5 separate regions of the Homo sapiens genome follow, and all the other regions are linked to region 1. Evidence: promoter capture Hi-C in human tissues and cell types (Jung and others, 2019). All regions are on one chromosome and are shown on one strand. Each heading gives the region's core, a stretch centred on a gene start or on the middle of the fragment in contact. The rest is flanking DNA. Distances are from core to core; before and after follow the strand shown. Region 1 holds the start of ABCA2 (ATP binding cassette subfamily A member 2). Region 2 holds the start of TMEM203 (transmembrane protein 203). Region 3 holds the start of EDF1 (endothelial differentiation related factor 1). Region 4 holds the start of ANAPC2 (anaphase promoting complex subunit 2). Region 5 holds the start of LOC105376328 (a long non-coding RNA gene).

Region 1 (5,551 bases), core at 2,026-4,525:
CTAATTTTTTGTATTTTTAGTAGAGACGGGGTTTCACCGTGTTAGCCAGGATGGTGTCGATCTCCTGACCTCGTGATCCGCCCACCTGGGCGTGAGCCACCACACCTGGCCCAAAGGCACCTCTTTCTGCCCTGTCCCCTCTCCTGACCCGGGGCAGCCAGTCTTGGGCCTTGGAGCTCAGTTTCCCCAGGTCGGCTCCTGCTAACCCAGGCTGGGCACCAAGGTGAGCCCTAGTGGGACCTGCGTGGAGTGAGAAAGAGGTGCTTTGCTCACTTCACCTGAAAACCAAGGACTTTACCGGTTCTTGTGTCCCAGCCCCCAGCTCAGGGAGGAGGAGGAGCTTGAGCCAGCTACCCTCCAGAGAGCCCTCGGCAGACCAGCCCTCTCTGAGACCCACAGGACAGAGGGGCCCTGCCCTCCCTAGCCCGAGGGCGAGCACCCAGCTCGGAGGCATCCTTTGTCCTCATCCCCATCCCAAAACCCTTCAGAGCCCCCAGTGTGCTGTGTGGCCCGGGCCGAGTCCCCGGTCCCTGGGGTGGGGGCGGCTGCTGTGTTTACTGTGCTTGGACAATAGGGCTTTGTGGCCAGGAACATCATGCTGTGGGTGTCCCATGCCCGCCCCAGCCCGTGCCAGCCTCCACCCGCTCCCTGAGCCAGGACGGAGCCCAGGGTTCGCCAAGGCACTGTGGGCACCAACAGGCACCAGGGCGAGGGTGGCTGCAGGAGTGAGGCAATGTCAGAGGCAGGGGTCACAGCACGGGGCGCCAGCCCCGCCCACACCCGGCCTGCTATGGGCACTGTAACTGCAGCAACAGGCCCGGCTGCCTCCCCCATTGCTATAGCAACGGCCTCGCACGAGCTACTGGGAGGAGGAGGAGAGTCCTGGCTGGCAGGCGGCGGGCGCCACAGCAGCATCTGGTTACAGGCGGCAGCACAGGTCTAGCACGCCCTGGGTGCCCCACACAGGTGCCTCCAGGTGGCCCAACCTCCGTCCCTCGAGACCAGCCCAGTGCCTTCACATCGCCTGGAGGCCTAGATGCCTTCTCTGGGCATGACCCCTCCCTGTAGCTCCCGCCTACTGTGTCGGGGGGAGAACAGGTGAGACCCGAGGGTGGCGCTGCCATCTGCCATCCCAGTGACTTCATGACAGTGACCCTGTCCCTGCACCAAGAGCAGCCTGTAGCCCAAGGGTAGACCCAAGTCCAGCTAACTAAGAGGAGATAGGCCACACTCACAGACAGGGAAACTGAGGCAAAGAGCTTGGAGGAGCCTGCTAGCAGCACAGAGGTCCTTGGCACCCACCCTCCAGACCCTGAGCTCTGCCCAGGGTGGAGCTCTGCCCAGGGTGCACCCCTGCCCCAGCAGGGCGCATGGCACACAGGGCAAACCTCTGTCATCCAAGCTTGGCCCCAAGAGTCCAGCTCTGATGTCCAAGATCCTTCCCAGGAAAGTGGGGACCCAGCAGGAGTGTGCCCAGTGTCCAGCCAGCCCCAGCCCCACATCACAAGCCTGGCAAGGACTCAGCCTCCCTGGGGGAAACAGTTCCCCACCTGCTCCAGCCATGGGCTAAGGACCTCCACTGTGGCCCAGTGGGCCTCTGGGAGCCCTGTAGGGTGGGGACCCAAAAAGGTCCTGGGGGGCAGCCCAAACCAGCAGCTGGGAGTCACTCTTGCGGTCAGGACAGTGCACACCTCCCACCTGCTTGCCAGCTGCCCTCATAGGCCACACTCCCTTCCCTGAGCATTGTCCCCACTGGAACAGGGGCCACCATTCCAGCCTCTGCTCCCAAGCCCAGTGGGGACCTTCCTGACAACCACCCCCGGGGACTAATACTAATGCATGCCACATGCCACATCCCTGTTCCCTTGGCCCTGCTCTGCTGTCCCCAGTGACTCAATGCCAGGGGCTGCAGGCCTGATCCATGGGACCCCACTCAGCCAGCTCCAGGTGCCTGGCCAGGGCATGTACCTAACCCAGGCTCCCCGCCAAGGCCAGGTGCCCAGGGGAATTCTGCCAGCCATGGTGATGATGGCCACCCCAGCTGACTGCAGCCTGGGTTTCCTGCAGTGCATGTTGAAAGATAAACAGGCACGGACTGGTGCAGCCCAAGGGGTCCCGCCCGGGCCCTGGCTGGGCAAGAGGATGTCTGCCTTAGGCCCCCACCTGCTCTGAGCCCTGGCCTGGACAATCCCAAGGGCCTTCAGAAACCTAAGCTGGTCCAGGCCTGTGGCCTGGGAGGTGTCCCTTCCCTTCCCAGGCTGGAGCCAAGCTGGCCAGCTGGGGGTATGGCAGGACACCCATATCCCCAAGCCCCTCGCTCCACGAAGGACTTCTGTCCCTGACAGCCATGTGTCCTGCACCCTCAGGTCCACTGGCTGCCCAGGCAGTGCTGGGAAAGCCGGGGTTCACAGCTCCAAACAGTAGACCCAGCCCCCAGAGCAGGTGGGGGGACCAGGAGGCAACAGAGTGGATCAGGCTCGGGGAGAACTGACCCCAAAGGACAAATGGGTGCAGAGATTCAGGCTGGCCAAGGCTGGCACAAGGACATTCCCAGTGGCGAGAGCATGAGCAAGGGTCACGGATGTGCCAGGAGGGGAGGCGGAGAGATGCCTGGGACCAACCTCTATGGCAGGCCGCGGCCCAAGGGCAGGGGAGGGGTGGACGGAGGGAAGGGACAGGGTCTCCTCCGGGACCCCAGGGAGGCTGGGCCCAAGGACCATGGAGCCTCGCAGCTGAATGGAGCCCCCCAGGCCTGCCTTCTGTCCTGGGAACCAGGGCCTCCCTCGAGCCAGAGTCCTGAGCGCCGCTTGCCCCCCGCCCACAGCGGCCCCAGCGAGCGCGCTGCAGAGGGCGCGGGTGCCGTGACTCAGCCGAGCACCGCGATGTCAGCGGACGCGGGACCGGACTGGACACGACCGAGCCACCTCCCCGGAGGCCGCAGCGCCGGCAGGCGAGGGCAGGGCCCGGCGGGGAGGGGGCTCGGGCCCGCGCCGCCCCCAGCGCCCGCCGGGGTCTGCGCGCGCCCGGCCGTCCGCACGTGCGCGCGGGGAGCGCGCCTCTGGCCGCGGTGCGCGCGGCCTCGGGCTGAGGGCGGGCGCGTGGGGTGGGCTCACCGGGCTCCGGCGTTTGAGCGTCACGTTCTTCCAGAGCAGCAGCTGCAGCTGGTGCAGGAAGCCCATGGCGGGGCCACGCTCCGCCGCCTCAGCGCCGCGGCCCGCTCCTCTGCGCGCCCCGCCGGGCCCCGCAGCCCGCCGCGCCGCTGGGCATCGCCCGCGCGGGGGCGGGGCGCTCGGGCGTCCGGGACCCGATCCGCGCTGGCTCCGCCCCGGCGGCCGCGGCGACAGCGACTCTGCCCGCGCCCCGCCCGCCCCCGCTTAAAGGCGCCGCGCTCCGTCCGCGCCCGCCAGGAGGCGCCCGCCGCCCGCGCCGCGCCCGGGACCGACCCGGGCCCGAGACCCTGCGCGCGCCGCCGCCGGGAAGCCTCCGGGCCGCCCCTCGCCGGGCGTCACGCGACGCGCCCACATCGAATCCGAGACCCCGGCTTAGCCTTCGTAGGCCGGGGGACCCTCGGGCGCTGCGCTCTTCTCCCAGAGGCATCCGGCTGCGCCCACCGCGCTGGCGACTCTGCAGAGGCGCCCCAAGCCTTCACTGTCCCCGGGGCGCGCCGAGCGGACGCTGGCGAGGGGCCAGCTCACCCCCGTAAGGGTCTCCTGTGTGCTTTGTAAACCAGCACTTGGAGTCCAGGTGGTGCCCACCTGGAAGGGAGGCAGGGCGGCCAGGTGGGTCCGTCCCGCGATTCCGAGCAGCCAGCGGAAGGGGGGAAACTCGAGGCCCCAGGAACGCTCGCCGTGAGCGGAGCAGGCAGGGGACCGAGGCGGCCCCTGCTGCACGCGGCTCGTTTTTCTCCCCATATTCGGGCGAGTCTGGTCTCTGCACAGGGAGTTCGGGATCAGGCGGTTCTGCGGCTGTGGCTTGGCACCTGCTGGGGCGCCCCGGGAGGTGGGGCAGTTCCTCCGCGTGGCCTGTAGAGAGCGACAGAGGACAGGCTGACCCCATGGGTGGCTCTGACGGCGCTTCCCAGACTCAGTTTCCCCCCTGTGAATGGGGTGGAGTAGCGCTGTGTGGTGTCCAGTGTCAGGGCGCACATAGAAGGCGCATCCTCAAGTGAATGAAGACCTCCGAGGCCACAGCTCCCCACTCCTCCCAGCTCCTTTGCAGCAGGAAGGTGACCCTGGGCTAGTGAGTGAGGGATCAGCTTCCCACCCCAGCCCGCAGCCTCAAGGCACTTGCTTTTCTCTGCTCAGTCCACAGGGCTGGGTCAGGGCAGGAAGCTACCAGCAGGTCTTTCCCACAAGCCACAGCCATGGGTGAGGGGGGCTTCCTGCCCTCAACCTGCCCACCCCTACCTGGGGTAGGGACAAGCCCTGTGCCCCAGCCCCGGGGGCTTAGCCTGTTGGGGCCCTGGTCAGCACCACCCGTGGGTTGGCCTCTCTCCTCCTCGCCCCACTCTCCACCGTCCACTACAGGGGCTCCCTGGCTGCAGCCGCATCCCCAGTGCCTCCCCAGCACTGGCCACCAGAGGGAGCTACAAGGCACAGGTCAGACCCTGTCACCCCAGACACCCTCCAGCCTGCGGGCCTGGGAGATGGGCGATTTCAGCCTGGCCAGGCCTCTGACGTCCGTTCCCTACTCTTCCCCAACCTTGGCCTGTTTTGGTTTTTGTTTTGAGACAGGGTCTCATTCTGTTGCCCAGGCTGGAGTGCTGTGGTGTGATCACGGCTCACTGAAGCTTCAACCTCCTGGGCTCAAGCCATCCTCTCACCTCAGTATCCCAAGTAGCTGAGACCACAAGCGTGAGCCACCACGCCCTGCTAATTCTTGTATTTTTGGTAGAGATGAGATTTCACTACACTGCCCAGGCTGGTCTCGAACTCCTGGGCTCATCGCCTTGGCCTTTTGGGGGACACAGAAGGCTCTCTGATAAGGGGCCGTCTGGCGGAGGCTGTAGGAACTGGGGTAGCCAGTGGGCAGCCCGGCACAGGGAGGGCTCTCAGGCGGAGGGTGAGCAAAGGCCCAGAAGTCAGGCGACAGGACCCCCCGTGGGGAACAAGCAGCCCCATGGCCGTGGGGGCGACATGTCAGGGGAGGGCAGATGCAGGCTCTGTGGCCCTGCACGGAGGTGACCCATGAGACACTGGCCAGACCCACGAGGCACTGCTCAGATGTTTATTGTCCACCGCCCTCCCTCCCTGAGCCCAGAACAAGCTGGTTTGCTCCCCGTGGTCTCCTGGGCCCCGCCCCAGCCTACACACAGGGACCTCAGAACTATGGACGTGGCAGGGACCCGTGCCTGTGTCTCGGGGACCACAGGGCCTCTGCTACCGAGGAAGCTCGGGGTCCCAGGTTTGGCCCCCACAAACTTCAGGCTGGGGTGCCCCCCAGCCCCAAGGGCCCTGCCTTTCACCCTCTTCCAGCCAGGCCTTCACCCACCCAAGATTTGTTCAGGGTGGGGAGGGTCCTCGGCAGCCTTTCCCCTCCCGTCTGCCGCAGC
Region 2 (5,551 bases), core at 2,237-4,736, 180 kb after region 1:
CGATTCTCCTGCCTTCGCCTCCCAAGTAGCTGGGGTTACAGGTGCCCACCACAACGCCCGGCTAATTTTTGTATTTTTAGTAGAGACGGGATTTCGCCATGTTGGCCAGGCTGGTCTCGAACTCCTGGCCTCATGATCTGCCTGCCTTGGCCTCCCAAACTGCTGGGATTACAGGCGTGAGCCACTGGGCCTGGCCAGAATAAACTTTCATTTCAGCTTTCCAGAAGCCAAGTGTCTCCTCCCTTAGGGCCCTCCTCAAATCACCTTTCTAAAGGAAGCATCTGATGTTCATCACTTCTACCCTAGTAGGGTTGCCCAATTCTGAACTACCAAAATAAAACAGGGGAACACACAAAACACAAAATCTAGAAATAAATAACATTACGAGGAAACTCACTCCCACTGTTCAGCTTGAATCTGGCTTTGACAAAAGTTATGCCAATCCCAGGCTGGACACAGTGTCGTAGCAACAAACCAGATAAGCTGCCTCCAACGCAAGCCCCTCCATGGTTTACACAACTAAGCATACACGCCAGGCAGAGGCTGACACCGCACTCCGCTGGCCAGGCTGATGCATGAGAGCAGAGGTCAGCACACCTGTTCTGTAACGAGCCAGATAGGAAATTTTTTTTTTTTTTTTTTTTTGAGACAGAGTCTCGCTCTGTCGCCCACGCTGGAGTGCAGTGGTGCTATCTCGGCTGACTGCAATCTCTGCCTCCCAGGTTCAAGCAATTCTCCTGCCTCAGCCTCCTGAGTAGCTGGGATTACAGGCATGCGCCACCATGCCCAGCTAATTTTAGTATTTTTAGTAGAGACGGGGTTTCACCACGTTGGTCAGGCTGGTCTCAAACTCCTGACCTCGTGATCTGCCCGCCTCCGCCTCCCAAAGTGCTGGGATTACAAGCGTGAGCCACCGCATCTGGCCCCAGACAGGAAATATTTTAGCCCACTGGTTTTTGCCAGGGACAATTTTGTTCCCCAGGGCCCTTAGCAATGTCTGGATAAACATCTGCTTGTCACAAGTGAAGGCTGCTACTGGCATCTACCCAGGAGAGGCAGGAGCACTGCGAAACAGACTGCATCCTCACTAGAGAATCTTCTGGCCCCAAAGGCCAAGAGTGCCAATTAAGAGACCTTGGACTCTGAGGGTCATATCCACTCTCTGTCACAAGTTCTGCTTTTGTTTTTTTTTTTGTTTGTTTGTTTTTTTCTGAGACAGAGTCTCGCTCTGTTGGCCAGGCTGGAGTGCAGTGGCGTTGTCTCGGCTCACTGCAAGCTCCGCCTCCCGGGTTCACGCCATTCTCCTGCCTCAGCCTCCCAAGTAGCTGGGACTATAGGCACCCGCCACCACGCCCGGCTAATTTTTGTATTTTTAGTAGAGACAGGGTTTCACCGTGTTAGCCAGGATAGTTTCGATCTCCTGATCTTGTGATCCACCCACCTCGGCCTCCCAAAGTGCTGGGATTACAGGCGTGAGCCACCACGCCTGGCCTGCTTTTGCTTTTAATCATTTAGGGGTGTAAAAACCATCCTCAGCTCAAGGGTCATACAAAAACAGGCCTTAGGACATTGTTTGCTGATCCCTGCTCTACAGAGTGCCAACAAGGCCCACAAAGACCACACTCTGGCAAGAAGTCATGGGCTCTGGGGTCACAAACTATTCAATGGGTCTTTAACATGAGCCCAGATTGTTGTCTTCATACAGGGTGGGGGGGGGGGTGCCTGAGTTACCCACCTCCTAGAGCAGGAAGGAGGGATTCTCCAGAACAAGTGATTCCCACCACCACCATCCACTAAGCTCTAGCCACAGGTTTCAATCCATTTAAAACCGCAGCTCTGTAACCAGCTACACCACGTAGCAGAGAGTATCTCAATATTCATCCTATTTAACCCTTGAGGGTTACAGGCAACCACTATTCATTTCAGGAAAACATTCTCTTACTTTATTTGCATCTCAGCAAAGGTTCTCATGTGGCACCTGACTGGCATCAAACCAAAGTTCGTAGGCCAACAAAGATGGGCCACTCACAAGCTTCCCATTTGTAGATCTCAGTGCCTATGAGTATCTGACACCTGTTCCTCTCTTCAGTCTCTTAGGGAGGCTTAAATCTGTCTCAGGTGTGCTAAGAGTGCCAGCCCAAGGTGGTCAAAAGTCCACAAAACTGCAGTCTTTGCTGGGATAGTAAGCCAAGCAGTGCCTGGACAGCAGAGTTCTTTTCTTGGGCAACAGATAACCAGACAGGACTCTAATCGTGCTCTTATTCAACATTCTTCTGTCTCTGCCTAGACTGGAATAAAAAGCCAATCTCTCTCGTGGCACAGGGAAGGAGATACAAGCTCGTTTACATGTGATAGATCTAACAAAGGCATCTACCGAAGTCTGGTCTGGATAGACGGCACAGGGAGCTCTTAGGTCAGCGCTGCTGGTTGGAGGACATTCCTGAGTCCAGCTTTGCAGCCTTTGTGCAACAGTACTTTCCCAGGATCCACAGGAAATACTCAGAGTCCACCTGGACATTTTACTTATATTCAGTTTCCAAGTGTCAGAGGGGTTCAGGACTGTCTGGCCTGGGGGGCCTCCTCATGACCTCAATTCAGGATTATCTACTCAAAGCATTAAACAAAAGGAAATACATTTTCAGGATGAAGGCTGCTCTTTTAAGCCCTGCTGAAGAAACCATTTCAAACAGGATTGGAATAGGGAAACCCGGCACTCAGCTCGGCGCAAGCCGGCGGTGCCTTCAGACTAGAGAGCCTCTCCTCCGGTGCGCTGCAAGTAGGGCCTCGGCTCGAGGTCAACATTCTAGTTGTCCAGCGCTCCCTCTCCGGCACCTCGGTGAGGCTAGTTGACCCGACAGGCGCGGATCATGAGCAGCTGCAGGAGAATGAAGAGCGGGGACGTAATGAGGCCGAACCAGAGCTCCCGAGTCTGCTCCGCCAGCTTCTGGCACAACAGCATCTCGAAGACGAACTTGAGACTCAGGACCGTAAGTACCCAGAAAAGGCGGAGCACCGCCAGCCGCTTCTCTCCATCCTGGAAGAGGCGCACGGACACGATGGTGGTGAAGTAGGTGCTGAGCCCGTCAGCGGCGAAGAAAGGCACGAACACGTTCCACCAGGAGAGGCCCGGGACCAGGCCATCCACACGCAGTGCCAGCAGCACAGAGAACACCAACAGGGCCAGCAGGTGCACGAAGATCTCGAAGGTGGCGAAGCCTAGCCACTGCACCAGCTCCCGGAGCGAGAAGAGCATCGCGCCCGTTGAGCGCGGGCCGGGGCCCGGCCGAGCGTGCCACCCGCGGGGCTGCGTCTCCTCTCCCCGTGGCCCTCGCCCGCGCCTGCCGCCGCTGCTGCGAGCGAGAGGCAGCGAGCGGCCCCGCCAGCCCCAGCCCTCGGCCCTGATGCGCCGGCAATCCCCCGGCCCCGACCCGGGACTCAACCCTGGCCGCCCGTGAACGCCCGCCTCGATCGGACGCCATGCCCCCACAGGGCGCGTCCCTAGTGCGTCACTTCCGGTCGACGGCGGAAGGCGGAAGGCGGAGCGGTCCCTGCAACCCGGCCGGCGGGAACTGCCTTCTAGTTTTTAGTCTCAGACCAGACCACCGGGCGCACCCCGATGCCGAGCCCGCAGCTTCTGGTGCTCTTCGGCAGCCAGACAGGCACGGCTCAGGATGTGTCGGAGAGACTGGGTCGCGAGGCCCGGCGCCGGCGGCTTGGCTGCCGGGTGCAGGCCCTGGACTCCTACCCGGTGGTGAGGGCTCGCTAGGGCCTCGGCGTGGGGGACGAGCAGGCCTGGCGTGCCCGCCTCGCGGGGTCATCGACCCAAAAGGCGTCGCATTTTCTCTGAGAGCGGGTCTTTCCCTTATGGCGGATTTAGGGAAGGAGGTTTGGGAAGGGGAGTTCAGTTTAGCACCTGGAGGAGGTTGGAACCTGAAAGAGAAGACGGTCTGGCTGCTCACATAAATCCCTCTGCCCTGTCAGCCTGAGTAAAGGAGAAGGGGGTCAAGTTTTGGGAAGGACGCCCGGTCCTTACAGCCGGAGGTCTTACGTGTGTGTGTCTTTTTGTTGAGGTGAATCTGATTAACGAGCCCCTGGTGATATTTGTTTGTGCAACTACAGGCCAAGGAGACCCCCCTGACAACATGAAGGTAAGGCTGGCCTGATGTGGCTCCTCAGATCCCTGCCCTCGACCCTCACCCCGTTTTCATTGCCTGGCGTCTAGGTGCAGTAAATAGCTCTCCTTTATCTCATGCACCTTCAGAGGTGGATTTGAGAGAACGTCCGTGAGTGGGGCTGGGGGCTCCGGTTGCCCTCTCTAATAAACTCGTCGTAGCCACCAAATAGCCTTATTATCCGTTTTAACCTTTCTTATTTTTCCAGGGCTATCTATATGTGCATCTAGTCTGGGTCTTGTGTGTATTTCTAGACTGTATGACCCTCAGGGAACGTTGCTGAATTCTCTGACCATCTTTTAAGCACATATTCTATTCTTGGCACAGTCTGGTGCTGGGGATCCAGCTGTGAACCCAGCAGCCATATTTCCATCCTGGCAGAGTTCACACTGTAGCAGAAGCAGCTAACGGGCAATGACAGTGCCAGCAAACACCTGCTGCTGGGGAAAGTAGCATATGTCACAGGAGCACTGATAAGGGGCATCGAGCCTTATCTCACCCAACCTTGGGGCCCAGGCAGAGGTTTCTGGAAGAAAAGAGTGTAAGCTGAGTCACGGAAGGATGCGTGAGGGCTAGTCAGGCACCGAGGAAGAAGGAGCAGTCAGCGCAGAGGAAAAAGATGATTTGGTTTGTGTGAAAAGTGGAAAGCAGCTCAGGGTGGCCAAGCTGAGGAGTACACTGGGGCAAGAGGGGAGGAGAAGAGAGGCAGGAAGCCAGGCCCAGTCCAAAGAGCCTGAGTAACCACAGCAAGGCAGATGGGCTTGAAATGAAGGGTTGTCGGAACTGTAGGGGTGACACAGTCATGTTCCTAAGCTAGCAAAACCGCACTGGTCTGCAGGACAGCAGGAATAATGCCATGAGATGCACAGGACAGGCAGCAGATGCTACCGATCTGAGCTGAAGTGGTGGCAGAAGATAGAAGTGGACACATTGCAGTGGTGTCAGGAAGAGAGAGTCCCCGGGACATGGAACGGACCCAATAGGTCAAGCAGAATCGAGACAGGGATGTGGGCTCTGGAACCAAGATGGATGGTGGTTCCATCCACAGAAATCAGAGAACACGGTGGGAGTAGGGGGCTGTGCAGGAAGGGAACCTGGAGACATTGAAGTGGAGAAGTGCAGTAGGACTAGCGCTCCAAGGAAGATCCTGGGGCGGAGATAGGTGTTGAGGTAGCCACAATACAGAAGTGTGAGAAGAGGAAGCTCCTCTCTCCCCACAGGACAGGCTGCCCAGAACGTTAGAGCCCAGGAGGGCAGGAGAGTGACCAAGCAGCTAGAAGAGAGGGTGCAGCACCCCAAGGAGAGGACTGGGGGAGTGAGTGTTCCAGGAAGGGCTCTGGCATGTAAAGCTGCACAGAAGTCAAATCAGATAAAGCCTG
Region 3 (5,551 bases), core at 1-2,500, 160 kb before region 1:
ATTTGGTTTTGACTGTGCAACCAGTAAGGGTAGGGCAGACCAATGAATCCCTGTCACCAGAGCCCCAGCGCATCCTGGCCCAACTGGCCTCAAAGGCTTCAGCCCTAGGCCACCTGAGGGTACGAATGAGGCAGAGGCGGTGACTAAACTGTCCTCCCTATTACATCAGACTCACAACTGACCCTCGGATCCATCAGCCACATTGGTAATCTCCTTCCACAAGTACTGTTCAGGGCACGCCCATCTTCCACCTGTGCAACAGGGTCCACCTGCTCATGGGGTCCCCTGAAGCAGGCACTCTCTACAGCCTGTGATGCACCCAGGCAGGCTCCCTGGGCAGTATCTGACCAGCGGAGACCAGTAGAACCAAGCAGGTCCCAGGCAGAGAGAAAACTCTCAGGGAGGAGCCTACCCCCTGTCCCCAGCTCCCACTCAGGTCACTAACCTCTGCCCCGTCACCCAGTCTCCCGCCCCAGGCCCTCAACTGCTGTCCAATGGCCCCCAGCCCTATCCCAACCCCAATTCCCCACCTTCATCGCTGGTTCCTGCTGCTTGCCCCAGTCCCCACCCCTGTCCTAAGCCCTGTACCCCACTCTACCCTGTTCTTCCAAGCCCTGTCCCCATCTCCATCCCTGCCCCCGTTCCCAGTGCCCACCCTGGTTCTCTGTCCCCTATCCTCACACAAGGCCCCCAGCCTTGTCCCCGTCCCCGTCCCCACCTCCTGCCTCTGTCCTCACACCTGTCCCCACCAACAGTCCCTGCCCCTATCCCCTCCCCGCCCCACCCTGGCACTGGTCCCGGCCCTATCGCCTGCCCCTTGCCCCGTCCGGTTCCCTGCTCCTCTCCTCCTCCAGTCGCCCGCCCCCTGCCTCCTGGGTCCGTCCATCCCCTCCTGGGTCCGCCCCCCACCTTCCCACCCCTGTCCTGGCCCGGTCCTCCTACCCCTGCGATTCGCCCCGCCCTTCGAACCCCGTCCTGCCCCCGGCACCCCAGCCTTGTCCCCGTCCCCTGCGCCCTGTCCCAGGCCCCGCCTGCCCTTCCCCGAGCCCCCTGCCCCACGGTCCGTGGCCCCGGCCCAGCGTCCGCCCCGCCCGGCCCGGCCGCTCCTCAGTCAGCAAAGCACCTGCTTGGATTTGGCCTGGGCGGCCGTAGGGCCCTTCTTGCGCAGCACCGTCACCGTGTCCCAGTCGCTCTCGGCCATGGCGGGCGAAGACGAGCGTCCGTCCGGCGGCTCAGCGGCAGCTGCTAGAGACCTGGCGCGGCGACGCTACGTCCCCTCGGCACCTCCCCGCTTTCGGCGTCCCATTGGCTGGCTGCACGCGGGGGGCGGGCACTTCCCGTGCTCGGGGCCATTCGGCGTTCGGCTCGTCTGAGGGACGTCGTGGCCGGGCGCCGGCGACGTAGGGAAGGCGACGTCGGGGCCTGGCCTGGCCTGGCGAGGCGCGGTAGCCGCTGGGGCTGCAGGTCGGGAGGACCCCGGAGCCCGGGCCCCGCGGCCTCCGAGCACACGCGGGCGGCGGCTGCGCCCCGACGCGCAGCCCCCGTGCCTCCCCGGGCCCCGCACCCCGGCCGGGCCACGCGGGCGGAGGGGGCGCGGGGTCTCCGCTCTAGCCGTGCGGCCGCCCCCCTTTGTTTTGCCGCCTGCGCGGCTGGGACCTGCGCTCGAGGACCAGGGCCGTGGGGCCCGAAACGCAGCGTGGGGTGGGACACTTTTTTTTTTTTAACTTTTATTTTTTGAGATGGAGTCTTGCTCTATCGCCCAGGCTGGGTGCCGTGGCGCGATCTCGGCTCACTCCGTCTCCCGGGTTCATGCCATTCTCCTGCCTCAGCCTCCCGAGTACCTGGGACTACAGGCGCCAGCCACCACGCCCGGCTAATTTATTTATTTTATTTTATTTTATTTTTAGTAGAGACGGGCCAGGATGGTCTCGATCTCCTGATCTCGTGATCCGCAGGTGGGACTCTTTAAGAAAAAGAACGCAAGCCGGGCACGGTGGTTCACGCCTGTAGTCCCAGAACTTTGGGAGGCCGAGGCGGGCGTATCACCTGAGGTCGGGAGTTCGAGACCAGCCTGACCAACATGGAGAAACCCCGTCTCTACTAAAAATACAAAATTAGCCGGACGTGGTGGCGGGCACCTGTAATCTCAGCTACTCGGGGAGGCTGAGGCAGAAGAATCAGTTGAACCCGGGAGGCGGAGGTTGCGGTGAGCCGAGATCGCGCTATTGCACTCCAGCCTGGGCAACAAGAATGAAACTGCGTTTCAAAAAAAAAGAAAAAGAATGGAAAACTGTGAAAACATCGGTTGCAAAAATGAATGGTTTTGCATGATGTTTATTTTCTGTAATGTATAAAGTGTATATGTTATATGACAATAATTCTGTAATACCCTATTTTCCAGCCGTTTTGTATAATGAGAAAGGTCATTATACATTATCATTGAACAACTTTTTTAGGATTTTTATTTTTATAGACAGGGTCTCACTCTGTGGCCCACGCTGGAGCACAACATTGAGATCTCAGCTCACTGCAGCCTCGACGTCCTGCGCTCAAGCGATGGGACTATAGGCGCGGCCCCCACGCCTGGCTAATTTTTGTATTTTGTGGGGTAGAGATGGGGTCTCCGTGCCGCCCTGGCTCGTCGGTCTGGAACTCCTGAGCTCGCGTGATCCTCCCGCCTCGGCCTCCCAAAGCCTGGGATTACAGGCTTGAGCCACCGCAGGCCCTAATCATAGTATTGACTTCCGGGCTTTGAATAGATGCTCCACAAACAAGGAACCTGATAAATGCAGTCTCCATCCAAAAAGAAAACATACATAAATGCTGTATTAAATTGGAAATGCTGCATTAGCAAATGCACTCCGCGGAGGAGACAACTGTAATTCTAACCAGGCAGTGGGAAGTTGAGTCTTCTGCTTACCGTTTTTCACACCGGATGATTGGAAGAACCTTGGGGACACACTGATGGCTCCGTCCATACAAACCTTGCTTCTCTGTTTCCCGCCGACTTCCAGCACCAAGCTCCGTTCGGCTAAGGACTCAACAGCCTCAGCCGGCCAGCAAGGATGTGCTTCCACTGAATGAAAATAATCTCTTGTGGCCGGGCGCAGTGGCTCACTTCTGTAATCCCAGCACTTTGGAAGGCCGAGGCGGATGGATCACGAGGTTGAGAGATCGAGATCATCCTGGCCAACACGGTGAAACCCTGTCTCTATTAAAAATACAAAAATCAGCTGGGCATGGTGGTGCGTGCCTGTAGTCCCAGCTACTCAGGAGGCTGAGGCAGGAGAATTGCTTGAACCGGGAGGCGGAGGTTGCAGTGAGTCGACGACACCGCACCATTGCACTCCAGCCTAGGGACAGAGCAAGACTCTGCTGTCTCAGAAAAACAAAAAAAAGAAAGAAAGAAAAAGAAAATATCCCATAAACTCTGACTGGATGTATCTCCACTCAAGTCCCCCTTTGTTGTGTGCCAAAAATGCTTATCGTCACTCCAGTGCCACCAGCCCCCAGGAAGATTGTGATGAAGGTGGAGTTGGCCTGGAAAGAGGCAGCCTTGTTAACACTGCAGTTCAGGCCTCCTAACATGACAAACTTAACCAACACCTGATCTCATGAACGCATTGGGAGGCCCTTTTCAGAGCCTGGGAGACCCATGCAAGTGGGGCTCAGCTAGCTCCGTAGTGAGCCTGGGCTGAGAGAGAGGGGACAGCTACATCTAGCTGTCCTCTGCAGGTGTCCACCAAGACAGCCGTTGTCCCATCTGGCCCTCCATCGGGAGTCCAGGCCTGATGCCACAAGTCACTTGTGCCCTGTCCTTGGCACTCCCTGCACCAAGGCATGATGGATACAGGTGTCTGTGTGAGGCTGTCCTCACTGCCCACTCCGTCCCACTCCATCCCACTCCGTCCGTCCCACTCCGGGGTCGTTTGTTTGCACTCCCTCCTATTCCTGGATTCTTCCGACTTCGGGCCCAGAGGAAAGCAGCTGATACAAAGAAGCAGCTTTGGGGGGTCTGGTGAGCCTCTCGTATCTCACTGGAGATGTTGCACCAGTCTGTCTACCAGTTATCCATTTAGCTTCATGCATGGAGAAAAGACAATTCCAAAGACTTCTGGAGAAAAAAAGTCTCTTCATTTCCATCTGCAGATCTTAGTGTCTCTCTGGCATAATTTCCCTCCAGCCTTTCTTCGGTCCTTTTAGTACCATCTGCTGTAGTTTCATCTTTCATTTAACTGAAAATGTCTCTATTTTGCCCTTGTGTTTGAAGGATACACTATTGTATAAACGTCATCCCATTGTCTTCCAACTTCCATCCTTGCCAGTGAGAATCAGTGATCAGTCATTTGTGTCCTGGTTCCCCAGCAGGTTATGTGACAATGTGGCATGTCCTCTGGCTCTTTCAAGACTATCCCTGTCTTCAGTTTTCTTTTTCTTTTCTTTTTCTTTTTTTTTTCTTTTTTTTTTTTTTTTGAGACAGGGCCTCACTCTGTTGCCCAGGCTGGAGTGCAGTGGCACAATCATGGCTCACTGCAGCCTCAACCTCCTGGGCTCAAGTGATCCTCCCACCTCAGCCTCCCAAAATACTGGAATTACAGGCATGTTCCAACACCCCCAGCCTGATCTTCAGTTTTCTTAGCATGTGCCTAAGCATATTTTCCTTTGTATTTACCTTGCTTGGGTTCACTGAGCTGCTTTTTTATTTTATTTTTTTTTGAGATGGAATCTTGCTGTGTCACCCAGGCTGGAGTGCAGTGGCACGATCTTGGCTTGCTACAACCTCCACCTCCTGGGTTCATGCCCAGCTAATTTTCTTTTCTTTTTTTTTTTTGAGATGGAGTTTCGCTCTTGTCATCCAGACTGGAGTGCAGTGACATGATCTAGGCTCACTGCAACCTCTGCCTCCCAGGTTCAAGTGATTTTCCTGCCTCAGCCTCCTGAATAGCTGGGATTACAGGCACCTGCCACCACGCCTGACTAATTTTTTGTGTTTTTAGTAGAGACGGGTTTCATCATGTTGGCCAGGCTGGTCTCAAACTTTTGACCTCAGGTGATCCGCCCGCCTCGGCCTCCCAAAGTGTTGGGACTACAGGCGTGAGCCACCACATCTGGCCCACTGAGCTTCTTAGGACTATATAGTACCACACATTCACCATGTCGGAAACATTTTCCTACTATTTATTTATTTAGAGACAAGGTCTCACTGTGGCATCCAGGCTGGAATGCAGTGGCGTGATCACAGCTCACAGCAGGCCCAACCTCCCAGGCTTAAGCGATCCTCCCACCTCAGCCTCCCACAATGCAGCACTTTGGGAGGCCGAGGTGGGAAATCGCTTAAGGCCAGGAGTTCGAGACCAGCCTGGGCAACATGGTAAAACCCTGTCTCTACAAAAACATACAAACAATTAGCTGGGTGTGGTGATGTGTGCCTGTGGTCCCAGCTACTCAGGAAGCTGCAGTAGGAGGATCACTTGAACCTGGAAGGTCAAGCCTATGGTGAACCATGATCATGCCATCGCACTCCAGCCTGGACAACAGTAAGACCCTGTCT
Region 4 (5,551 bases), core at 1,647-4,146, 160 kb after region 1:
TGAGGAAAGGACAGGTGACACATGGGAACAGGATGGGGGGACCCACATGGCTGGGCCCAGCTCCCCTATGGCTCCGGGAGCCCAGAGCAGAGCCCCAGACCACACCCCAACAGCACAGGTGCCTGGAGGCCCCATGTGAGGGTGTCTCGCTCCCCGCTGTGGTGCAGGCTGGCTGTAGGTCAGTCCATTAGGGACCGGCCAAGCGAGTCCACACTCAAGTAGGGCAGCAAACAGGAGAAGGGGATCCATTCAGTGGCTCCTCTGGTGGGCCCAGCTTCGCCACACCTGCCTGAGGTAGCCCCCTCGGGATCCTGGCCCGATACCGCCTGCAGCCATGGGATTCTGCGCAGATCCGAAGAGCGCACCTCAGATGCGTCCTCGCTATCACCAGGGCCCAGAAGTACTGGTCTCTACCCCACATCAAGACAGCTCCAGCCACCACCCGGTCTGGGCCCACCCAGGCCTCCGTGCTCTGGATGCTTCTGAAGCCAGGTGTCAGGTTTGCCAGAAACCTACTCCCCTGTCTCCAGCGGGGCACAGCCCAAGGGAGGGGTCCTCACCTTGTGGAACTCACGCAGGAAGGAGCGCTCGTACTCGCCCCGGCAACGGTCCTCCATCCTCTCCCGGGTCACCTGGTGCAGGGTGGTGGTCACAGCCTCGGCACTGACCCGCTCCAGCAGACTGAGCCTGTGTCTAGAGGAGAGCCCTGGCCATGGGGCACCCAGAGCACACACCGGCCCCTCTAGCCCAGAACAGCCCCATGCCAGGACTGCCCTGCCTGTAGAGTGCATGCAGCACACACACACACACACACCCAGCACACACCTCCCCACAATCCTCAGCTGTGGGGGGCGGTTGTACCAAAGGCTTCAAGAAGCCACTGGGAGCACAGAGCACTCCCAGGCTCTGCTGTCCCCGCCCAGCTGGCCTCTATCCAGGTAGGGACACTGGCCTTCCCCATGTGATCAGTGGCAGCAGGTGTGGCTGTCGGGGGCCCTAGCCTTATCTCCTAGGATCAACTCTGAAACGACAACCAACTGCACTGCTACCCTGGCCGCAGAGGTACAGATGCCACTGTTTGTGCCTTTCAGTGCAGTCTCTGGTCTACAGTGACAAAAGGACTCAAGAGGAGGATGAGAAAAGTTGCCGTGTAACTTTTGCAGGGATGAGCCCAACAGAAGCCCTTCACGGTCTCCCTGACCCCTGCCAGCAAAAGGAGCACTCCTTTAGTCCACCTTTAGTCCACCTAAGACCTCTCAAGTAGCTGCATGGCTACACCCCCGTTCAATGTGACAAAACCACCACAAATGGCCAAGGGTATGACAATTGCTAGAGAACTACAACAGGACCTGTCTCTCACAACAAACCCCTCTCCTCTCCAAACTAACAAGAGACTGCTTGCCCTCACAGTGACCTGATCTTCCTGGAGAGAAGCAGCAGCAAGCTTCTGTTCACAATTACAGGGCAAGGAATGTCGACGAGGGTGAGAATCATTCCTCCCCAGGATCGACAAAAGGCACAGTGGAATTCTGCAGAGTCCAGGAAGTTTGGAGTTGCTAAGAAATTTGCTGCTGCAGACACAAGCCACATAGGGCCTTACCAGGGTCAAGGCATGAATCTGTGGGACTGAAGGTGAGTGACAGAAGAGAGACACCTGTGTCCAGGACACGCTGCACAGGAATCCCTGGGACTCTCTCTCTGTCATGTTCCTGGTTATCAGGACGGCTCACCAGCTTTCTGCTGAGGCCAGCTGGACCCAGGGGAGCAGCGGGGAACCAGAAGGAGCAAGGGCATGGCCATCGGGACAGACTACTCACAAGACCTGGCTGAGCTGATGGAACTGCTCCAGAGCCTGGCGACACCAGCACTGTTGCTTGTCACTGCTGCACCCTGCACACAGCGGGCTCTGCAGGAGCCGGTAGTACCGGCGACGGGCATACCGGCTGTCCAGCTCCCCTTCCAGTTCCGGGTCTGTGCCCCCTTCCCCCTTCCTCTTACTCTGCATATAGACTCTCAAGAAGCACCCATACAGACGCTGGATCATCTCTTGGAAGGTTCTGGGGGTGCTAAAGAACAAGACTCCGCGCAACATAGTGTGGACTTCTTCTCGCAGCCCCTGAGCACCAGTGCCCATCAGCAAGCCCAGGCGAGTCCATTTCTCCAGCAGCTCTAGGCTACGCAGGTAGGGATCCAGGCGGCTCTCCAGCAGGCCAAAAGCGTCAAGGAGTAGCAAAAGGCACTGGGGCTCATCCGCAGAGTTCTCGCATTGGGAGATGGCATTCCAGAACTCAGGGGAGATGTTGGCCTGCAGATCGTTCTGCAGCACCTCCACGAACCACTCCTCCAGGACCGAGTGTAGCCCGTGGCCCCTCAGAACCTCCACCGCCGCCCGGAGCTCCTCTTCCTTTGGCGGGACTGCACCGCTGGTCCGGGAAGACACCTGGGGTGCAGAAAACCGTGAGGCGAGGGGAACACAACATAGAGGTGGGGAGAGGCGGGGAAGGGAAGAAGCTGAGGGGGAGGCTGCAAAAACTCCGCTGCCCCCTGTCCGTGCTGCCCGGACGTTGGGCCGAAGCTATGGAAGGGCTGTCAGCGGAGCTGAACGAAACGAAACGGAAAGGTGGTGGAAAATGGCAGGACAGGACAGAGGCGGATGATGGACAGAGCCGTATGAACCCGAGGGTAGCGGCCCCAAAGCGCGTACGGTCCCGGAAACTCCGCGCGGGGCCGCCCCTCTCTTCCCAGGCCTCACCAGCCCCAGCGCAGCCGGCGGCACCAGGCCGGTGCTCACGGTGTTCCAGGCCACTAACAACTCCTGTCCGGGCCGGGAGTCGCTGTCCCCCTCCGCCACCACAACTGCCGCCGCCATCTGCACCCACCGACTCCGAGATTCGCTCGGCGCGGCGCGCGGCGATGACGCACGTCTGCACGCGCAGCCATGACGCGCACAAGGCGCTCAGCGATGACGCGCTAGTTCGGCGCGCCGTGGGGGAGTCGTGCGCAGGCGCGGACAGCGCTGCTTCCGCGGCGGTTGGGGTGGTGGGGCCCCGGGCGGCGTTGACCATGACCCAGCAGGGCGCGGCGCTGCAGAACTACAACAACGAGCTGGTCAAGTGTGAGCGGCGCAGCCGGGACGGGGAGGTCGGGAGGGCCGCAGGGCCGGGTTCCCGGCTCGCAGCGGGGTGCCCCTGGACCCGCCTCGCTGCGGGCATCGCGCGGCTGAGCAGAGCCCTCCGTGCCGGAGGCCGGGTGTCCGTGGCCCGAGCCCTCGCTGGCTCGCAGGCCCCGCGCCGGGCGCTCGGGGGTGGTGCCTGACTCTGGCTTCCTCGGGTGGAAGGAGGCCCGCCCTCCGCCGCCGCGCTCCTGCCCTGGGCCCACAGCGCCGCCCCTCCCGGCCCCCAGGCATAGAGGAGCTGTGCCAGAAGCGGGAGGAGCTGTGCCGGCAGATCCAGGAGGAGGAGGACGAGAAGCAGCGGCTGCAGAATGAGGTGAGGCAGCTGACAGAGAAGCTGGCCCGCGTCAACGAGAACCTGGCACGCAAGATTGCCTCTCGCAACGAGTTCGACCGGACCATCGCGGAGACGGAGGCCGCCTACCTCAAGGTGGAGCTCGGGAGGCCAGGCCGAGCATCAGGGGATAGGCACGGCAGGGGTGTTGCCACGGCAAGGCGTCAGGACCGGCTGGGGCTCCCGGCTGTGGGCAGTCTGTGCCTCGCTGGCATTTCGGGCAGGGGCAGCGTGGCCAGGCCCATTGAGGAACCCAGGCTGCTGTGGGAGTGACTGTGGGGCTGTCTGTGGGGCCTGGGGCATCCTGGGTCCTGGTCTTTATCCGGTTCTCGCTAGCCATGTGGTTATTTCTGCTCAGTGTGAAGAGCCAGGTCTTGGGCAGAGCACCCAGCACGGGCCAGTGCTAACCCAGCCTGGCTTTGAGGGTGGAGAGGAAGTGTTTTGGGTCAGATTCCGGAGGGAAGAGGGCCCTGCCACCCCGTCTGCCAGTCCCCTTGGGCTTCCGCCTTCCCCCACACAGGATCCCTTGGCTACAGCACCCCCAGCCAGGTCCCAGCACCTGAGTGTGAGGACAGCTGGGGCTTAGGACCTTACCAACAGGTGAACATTAACAACCTTCTCACTTCTCTGGCCCCAGATCCTGGAGAGCTCCCAGACTTTGCTCAGCGTTCTCAAGAGGGAAGCTGGGAACCTGACCAAGGCTACAGCCCCAGACCAGAAAAGTAGCGGCGGCAGGGACAGCTGACCAGACCACGGGCAGGGCCTGCCTCCGTGTGCCCCTCAGCTCAGCCCCAGCAAGTGTGTGCTCAGAGCATCTTTGTTCTTCACGGCAGCAGCTACCTTCCCTCACTGTCTCAGGTGCCGAGAGGGGCAGGTGCCAGCCTCCACTGGCATCAGTGACAAGCCCAGGGCACAGCCCACCCGGGGGTCCTCGCTTCATGCTCACACAGGCTATGGGGATGGTGGGCTCCAGGTCAGCTCTGCAAGGGGCTTGTCTCTGTGGCACCCACACTCCTGCCCTGCCAGGGAGGCTCTGGTTGTCTGAGCACCATGGGGGCCCCCTCACCTTGTCCCTCCTCAGCCAGCAGAGGCCCAGGGCAAGGGACAGGAGGACAGGGGTTCTCCTTCACCACAGAACCCAAACCTCAGGTCTCACCCCTGTGGCCTGTGATTATGAATAAAGATTATCTTTGTAAAGATCCGTGCCAGCCTGCTGCTTGCCCGTATCAACAGCATGGGGCTGCCAGACACCTGCAGAGCCAGAGCCTGAGGCTCCCCCTTGGGAGAGGAGGGAGGAGGGTCTGGAGTGGCCTCCCTGTGACTGCCCCACTAGCCTCAGGGACACCGCTGAGGGTGCCCACCCTCCCCAGGCCAGCCCCACCCTGAGCCCTCCCCAGCAGGGCCGCCGGTCCTCTTCCCCTGACTGGCCCACGGCTCACCCTCCTCTCAGGAGCTCTGCTTGCTCGTCCTGTTCTCTGCCACACCCTGGTGGCCAGCATAGGACCCAGCCCAGAGAGACAGCTGGGGATGCCAAGCATATCCAGCAGCTGCCTCAGATTCAGGTCCCTCTCAGCAAGGACTGGGGGGAGTTCACACCCCCCACCCCCGTCGGTTCCTCAGTTGCAAGTTTTGCTTGGCCTGATGACACCACTGCTGCCACCAGGCCCTGCTGCCCACCTTTCCCTGGCCGCACACCAAGCACTGGCCACTTCCATCCTTCCATGTGCCCTGGGGCCTCTGTTTTGTCCCTGCAGCAACCAAGCATGGCCCGAGGACTGGGCCGATTTGGGAGGCATGTGTTGATCCAGAGGGTCCAGAAAAGAGCTGGGCCTAACCCGACCAGGGAAATACACCAAACTCTCCTTCCGCCGGAGTTTGGCCAGACAGCATCTCTTTATCTCTTTGCTCTTAGGTTTGATCCTCCAGGGAGGAAATGGTGCTTGGGTTCCATGGGCTGTAAACAGCCCCAGCTCTGGCCGTCTGAGGCAGGCGCTGCTCCCGGCCTGCCTCATCCTGTGGGTCGGGGGGCACGCCAAGCCCAGCAG
Region 5 (4,693 bases), core at 1,555-4,054, 130 kb after region 1:
GCCCCACAGACCTCCCTCAGTGTCCCCACCCCAGACAGCCCATCCACCCCCTCTGGCCTGAAGGAGGAGGGTGCGGTGAGGTCAATGAAAGCCACTAAAGGAAGTGGGGGTGGGGCCTGCTTCCCCTGGACACCGTCCAGCACACCTGGCACAGCACAGGAAGCAGAGAGAACAGGAGGGAGGAGAGGAAGCTGCCCCCATCCCACAGGGGGTCTCCAGTGCCCCTCTTGACCCAGCCCTACTTAAGTCTGGGGCAGTTAGTTGTCTGACAGGACCCTGCTGGGGAAGAGCAGATGGGGGACAGCAGGCAGACCTCAGCTTCAGCACTCGCTGTCCCCAGTCCTGGTCCTCCACACCCCTCATCCCTCCTCCAGCCTGCATTGCTCTTGATGGGACCGGGTCAAACTGTCCTCTTCCACCGTGTGGGACAGCCCTTCCTGACTCCCCTGGGCCTCTGAGAGCCTCTGCCCTCGCCGGCTTCCTCCTCCAGAACATCTTTCCCTTGGCTCCCTACTCCAGGGTGCTCTCCTGGCCATTCCTCCCCGGGCAGAGCCACACTACCCCCACTCCACACACACTCCAGTCCTGGTAGCATCACAGACCACCAAAGGCAAGGACCTCACAGGCGACACGCCCACCAACCTTCTCTCGGTCATTCCAAGCCCTCAAATGTCTCTTGACCCTGTCTGTTTTCTGAGCCCACCCCTGAAGCTTGGTGTCAGCCCCTGTGACCTCTCACCCAGGCTCCCTCCCCTGCTCTGCACCGGCCCCTGTGGCCTCTCACCCAAGCTCCCTTCCCTGCTCTGCAGACAGGGTGGGGTTTTCCAGTGCCAGTGTGGGTTTCATTGCAGCCCAGACACCTCACACTGAAAAGTCTGAAAGCAGCGGTCAAACGCTAATGGCCAAAAGGCCCCATCTAGGCTGTGAGATGGAGATGGCTTTTTACAAATTTGTTTCTGGCCTCACTAATTTTTTAAAAATACTAGCATATATATTACCTGTATAACAGGAAAATGTAATGAAAGTTTTATAAAGCAAATCAACTTCTTCAATGGCTCCTGATTCCCCTGGGGATAAAAGACAAAATGCTGCCTGGAGGCTGAGGGTGGGCGGGCCTGCCCCCCTCTCAGGCTCACCCTGCCTAGGACATGCCGGGAGGGTGCCTCTCCCACCACCCCCACGCCTCCCTGCCTTTGCAGTTCTGGACTGCAGACTCCTCTGCTCCACCTGCCCTCAGGCACCTGCTTGATCCCTGCCCACCTTGAGGGCTCAGCTCTGACACCATCTCCCCTCACAGTTCTGGCAGTGTGCTATGCTCTATTCCAGCCCCCTGTGCCCCAGATCCCTTCCCCACCCCCATGCCATGGTCCCTTGAAGGACAGACAGGAGGGCGAGCCCAAGCAGGAGTGTGGGTCGAAGAGGCCACGGCGCGGTGGAGCACGTACACACGGGCAAGAGAAAGGAGCCAGAGACCTACATTCAAAGCCTGAGGGCTTCGGGACTGGGGGCCGGGACAGGCAGTGCGCCGGGATGAAGGGAGGCACGGGTGGGTGGCCCCACGGGTCCCAGGTCCTGTGCAGGTGCAGGGTCGGCTTTGTGGACATGCCCCTGTCCTCGTGGCACAGCAGGGTGGGGGTCAGCCTGCAGGCTGGGCTGTTTCTCACCCCAGGAAGATGCCTGGCATACACGGGACATCAGCGGCTCCTCTGCTGGAGGGAATCATGTCTTTTTTTTTTTGAGACAGAGTCTCGCTCTGTCGCCCAGGCTGGAGTGCAGTGGCGCGGTCTCCGCTCACTGCAAGCTCCGCCTCCCGGGTTCACGCCATTCTCCTGCCTCAGCCTCCTGAGTAGCTGGGACTACAGGTGCCCACCACCACGCCCGGCTAATTTTTTTGTATTTTCAGTAGAGACGGGGTTTCACCGTGTTAGCCAGGATGGTCTCGATCTCCTGACCTCGTGATCCGGCCGCCTCGGCCTCCCAAAGTGCTGGGATTACAGGCGTGAGCCACAGCACCTGGCGGGGAATCATGTCTAAGCCAAGACTGGAGAAAAAGTGGCCAAGAGAAGGGTCCAGCTCTCCAGGAGTCTTTTCTGAGCCCCCAGCCCCCACCCCCCCGGGGCTGCAGGCAGACGATGCTGACGGTGGCTGGGGAGGACGTGTCCTGAACACTTGGGCTCGTGAAGAAGCTCCAGAGAGGGGCAGTGGCCGGCGGCGCAGGGCGGGGGGTGTGAGGGGTGCGTCGGGGATTAAGAGGGGCGCCAGGGGAGGCTGGGAGCTGAGAAGAGACTGCCGCCCTGGGCAGCCTTAGGTCGGTGGTCCAGGCTGGGTCTCCCCTTCCCCCCCAGATTGTGACGATCCACCAGGAGCCCTTCGTGTACGTCAAGCCCACGCTGAGTGATGGGACATGCAAGGAGGAGTTCACAGTCAACGGCGACCCAGTCAAGAAGGTGATCTGCACCGGGCCCAACGACACGTCGCCGGGCAGCCGTGAGTGCGCGGGGCAGGGCGCGGGGCGCGGGGCAGGGCGCGGGGCGTGGGGCGGTCTGGAGCCCAGCAGTTACCGCCCGCACCTACCCAGCCCGCCACACGGTGCCTCAGTGTTGCTACGGCTTTTGCATCGACCTGCTCATCAAGCTGGCACGGACCATGAACTTCACCTACGAGGTGCACCTGGTGGCAGATGGCAAGTTCGGCACACAGGAGCGGGTAGGCTGGACGGCGGGGGTGGGGACCAGCGTGAGAGGGGCCTGCAGGCGCGGTCGGAGTGGGTGGGGCATGGAGTAGGCGGGGCTTGCAGATGGTGGGGGGTCCTGGGGTGAGTGGGGCATGGAGTGAGCGGAGCCTGCGGGCTGGGTCCTGGCGTGGGTAAAGCATGGGGTGGGCGGGGCCTGAGGGCTGGGTGGGGCCTGACATGGGAGGGGCCTGACGTGGGGGTCGGAGTGGGTGGGGCACGGAGTGGGCAGGGCCTGCAGGCGGGGGTCTGGAGTGGGCGGGACGTGGAGTGGGCGGGGCCTGCTGGCTGTGGTGGGGCCCGCCCGGCGTGGGAGGGGTCTGCGAGCCAGGGCGGGGCTGGAGTGGGGTGGGGCCTGCGAGCTGGGTAGGGTCTTGGGGAGAAGACCCCCGGAGTGCTCTAGGGCGGCTTCAGTCGGGGGTACCTGTGGCGGGAGCTGGGAGGACGCTGCCTGCATGCCCGCCGGCTCTGTCGCCTCGCAGGTGAACAACAGCAACAAGAAGGAGTGGAATGGGATGATGGGCGAGCTGCTCAGCGGGCAGGCAGACATGATCGTGGCGCCGCTAACCATAAACAACGAGCGCGCGCAGTACATCGAGTTTTCCAAGCCCTTCAAGTACCAGGGCCTGACTATTCTGGTCAAGAAGGTGGGCAGGGGCCGGGTGGCGGGGTGGCGGCGGGGGGAGTCCCTGGAGGGCCCGGGCCGCGCTGACCTCGCGTCCCTCCGCAGGAGATTCCCCGGAGCACGCTGGACTCGTTCATGCAGCCGTTCCAGAGCACACTGTGGCTGCTGGTGGGGCTGTCGGTGCACGTGGTGGCCGTGATGCTGTACCTGCTGGACCGCTTCAGGTGAGCGCGACCCGGGGCTCAGACACCTCCATCTGCGGGGCGCGGAGCCGGCCAGGGGCGGGGCAGGGCCGCCTCTCCCGCCCTCTCTCCCGCCCGCCCTCTGCGCCCCGCAGCCCCTTCGGCCGGTTCAAGGTGAACAGCGAGGAGGAGGAGGAGGACGCACTGACCCTGTCCTCGGCCATGTGGTTCTCCTGGGGCGTCCTGCTCAACTCCGGCATCGGGGAAGGTAAGGCCCCGCCCGGCCCGCCTGGTCCCGCCTCGGCCCTCTAGGGTCTGACAGAGCCCCCCGCCCGCCCACAGGCGCCCCCAGAAGCTTCTCAGCGCGCATCCTGGGCATGGTGTGGGCCGGCTTTGCCATGATCATCGTGGCCTCCTACACCGCCAACCTGGCGGCCTTCCTGGTGCTGGACCGGCCGGAGGAGCGCATCACGGGCATCAACGACCCTCGGGTGAGGCCTGGCCGGGCTGGGGGAGGGAATGCGAGGTGAGCTGGGGTCGGCCTCGGTTAGGGGCCTGGGGAGCCGCCGCCGCGATCCCTGCCCTCCGACCCTGCAGCTGAGGAACCCCTCGGACAAGTTTATCTACGCCACGGTGAAGCAGAGCTCCGTGGATATCTACTTCCGGCGCCAGGTGGAGCTGAGCACCATGTACCGGCATATGGAGAAGCACAACTACGAGAGTGCGGCGGAGGCCATCCAGGCCGTGAGAGACAAGTGAGGCGCGGGCGGCCACCCTGGCGGGGCGGGACAGGTGCGGGGAGGGGGAGGGTGGCCTCCACCGGGCAGGAGAGCGTCCGGGCCGGGCACCCCGGAGGGCGCGGGCGTGGGGCTTCCAGGCTGGCAGGACCAAGGCCCCCGTGACTCCGCCTCTGCCGGCAGCAAGCTGCATGCCTTCATCTGGGACTCGGCGGTGCTGGAGTTCGAGGCCTCGCAGAAGTGCGACCTGGTGACGACTGGAGAGCTGTTTTTCCGCTCGGGCTTCGGCATAGGCATGCGCAAAGACAGCCCCTGGAAGCAGAACGTCTCCCTGTCCATCCTCAAGTGAGTGTCCGTGCGCCCGCGTCCCTCCTCCGCCCCTCTCCGCCAGAGGTGGACGCCCTCCCCAGTGCCAGAC

Evidence for each region. The method cuts DNA at HindIII sites, captures the fragments that hold promoters and counts their contacts. A contact is called where the count stands out against the background at its distance.
Region 2: the fragment with the promoter of TMEM203 here is called in contact with the fragment with the promoter of ABCA2 in region 1 in 5 of the 25 tissues and cell types used here (adrenal gland, dorsolateral prefrontal cortex, hippocampus and 2 more).
Region 3: the fragment with the promoter of EDF1 here is called in contact with the fragment with the promoter of ABCA2 in region 1 in 2 of the 25 tissues and cell types used here (small bowel and spleen).
Region 4: a contact is called between the fragment with the promoter of ANAPC2 here and the fragment with the promoter of ABCA2 in region 1, in 5 of the 25 tissues and cell types used here (dorsolateral prefrontal cortex, heart right ventricle, lymphoblastoid cells and 2 more).
Region 5: a fragment that was not itself captured here is called in contact with the fragment with the promoter of ABCA2 in region 1 in 1 of the 25 tissues and cell types used here (H1 embryonic stem cells).

Annotation. Positions count from the first base shown.
Region 1 is chr9:137,024,962-137,030,512 of GRCh38, forward strand. It overlaps ABCA2 (ATP binding cassette subfamily A member 2), which reads right to left and starts at 3,276. Exons shown (of 49, transcript NM_001606.5): 1 at 3,114-3,276. The coding sequence starts at 3,179. It overlaps LINC02908 (long intergenic non-protein coding RNA 2908), which reads left to right and starts at 2,503. Exons shown (of 3, transcript NR_171031.1): 1 at 2,503-2,950. It overlaps FUT7 (fucosyltransferase 7), which reads right to left. Exons shown (of 2, transcript NM_004479.4): 2 at 5,213-5,551. RefSeq lists a silencer at 3,354-3,533 and an enhancer at 3,417-4,161. The HindIII fragment of the contact is 11,656 bases long and covers 3,096-5,551 here.
Region 2 is chr9:137,202,162-137,207,712 of GRCh38, forward strand. It overlaps TMEM203 (transmembrane protein 203), which reads right to left and starts at 3,487. Exons shown (of 1, transcript NM_053045.2): 1 at 1,921-3,487. The coding sequence starts at 3,253. The coding sequence ends at 2,843. It overlaps NDOR1 (NADPH dependent diflavin oxidoreductase 1), which reads left to right and starts at 3,539. Exons shown (of 14, transcript NM_014434.4): 1 at 3,539-3,751; 2 at 4,071-4,148. The coding sequence starts at 3,617. RefSeq lists a silencer at 3,243-3,502. The HindIII fragment of the contact is 14,043 bases long and covers 1-5,551 here.
Region 3 is chr9:136,865,058-136,870,608 of GRCh38, forward strand. It overlaps EDF1 (endothelial differentiation related factor 1), which reads right to left and starts at 1,251. Exons shown (of 5, transcript NM_003792.4): 1 at 1,124-1,251. The coding sequence starts at 1,201. RefSeq lists silencers at 953-1,142, 1,243-1,552. The HindIII fragment of the contact is 12,750 bases long and covers 1-5,551 here.
Region 4 is chr9:137,185,664-137,191,214 of GRCh38, forward strand. It overlaps ANAPC2 (anaphase promoting complex subunit 2), which reads right to left and starts at 2,897. Exons shown (of 13, transcript NM_013366.4): 1 at 2,753-2,897; 2 at 1,818-2,440; 3 at 561-693. The coding sequence starts at 2,869. SSNA1 (SS nuclear autoantigen 1) reads left to right here and starts at 3,013. Exons shown (of 3, transcript NM_003731.3): 1 at 3,013-3,115; 2 at 3,403-3,602; 3 at 4,144-4,703. The coding sequence starts at 3,064. The coding sequence ends at 4,251. RefSeq lists an enhancer at 2,805-3,024 and a silencer at 3,055-3,404. The HindIII fragment of the contact is 18,290 bases long and covers 1-5,551 here.
Region 5 is chr9:137,158,711-137,163,403 of GRCh38, forward strand. GRIN1 (glutamate ionotropic receptor NMDA type subunit 1) reads left to right here. Exons shown (of 20, transcript NM_007327.4): 9 at 2,346-2,487; 10 at 2,579-2,706; 11 at 3,214-3,378; 12 at 3,462-3,580; 13 at 3,694-3,806; 14 at 3,881-4,029; 15 at 4,136-4,293; 16 at 4,459-4,620. It overlaps LOC105376328 (a long non-coding RNA gene), which reads right to left and starts at 2,350. Exons shown (of 3, transcript XR_007061878.1): 1 at 1,474-2,350; 2 at 999-1,067; 3 at 1-279. RefSeq lists an enhancer at 4,077-4,576. The HindIII fragment of the contact is 6,049 bases long and covers 1-4,693 here.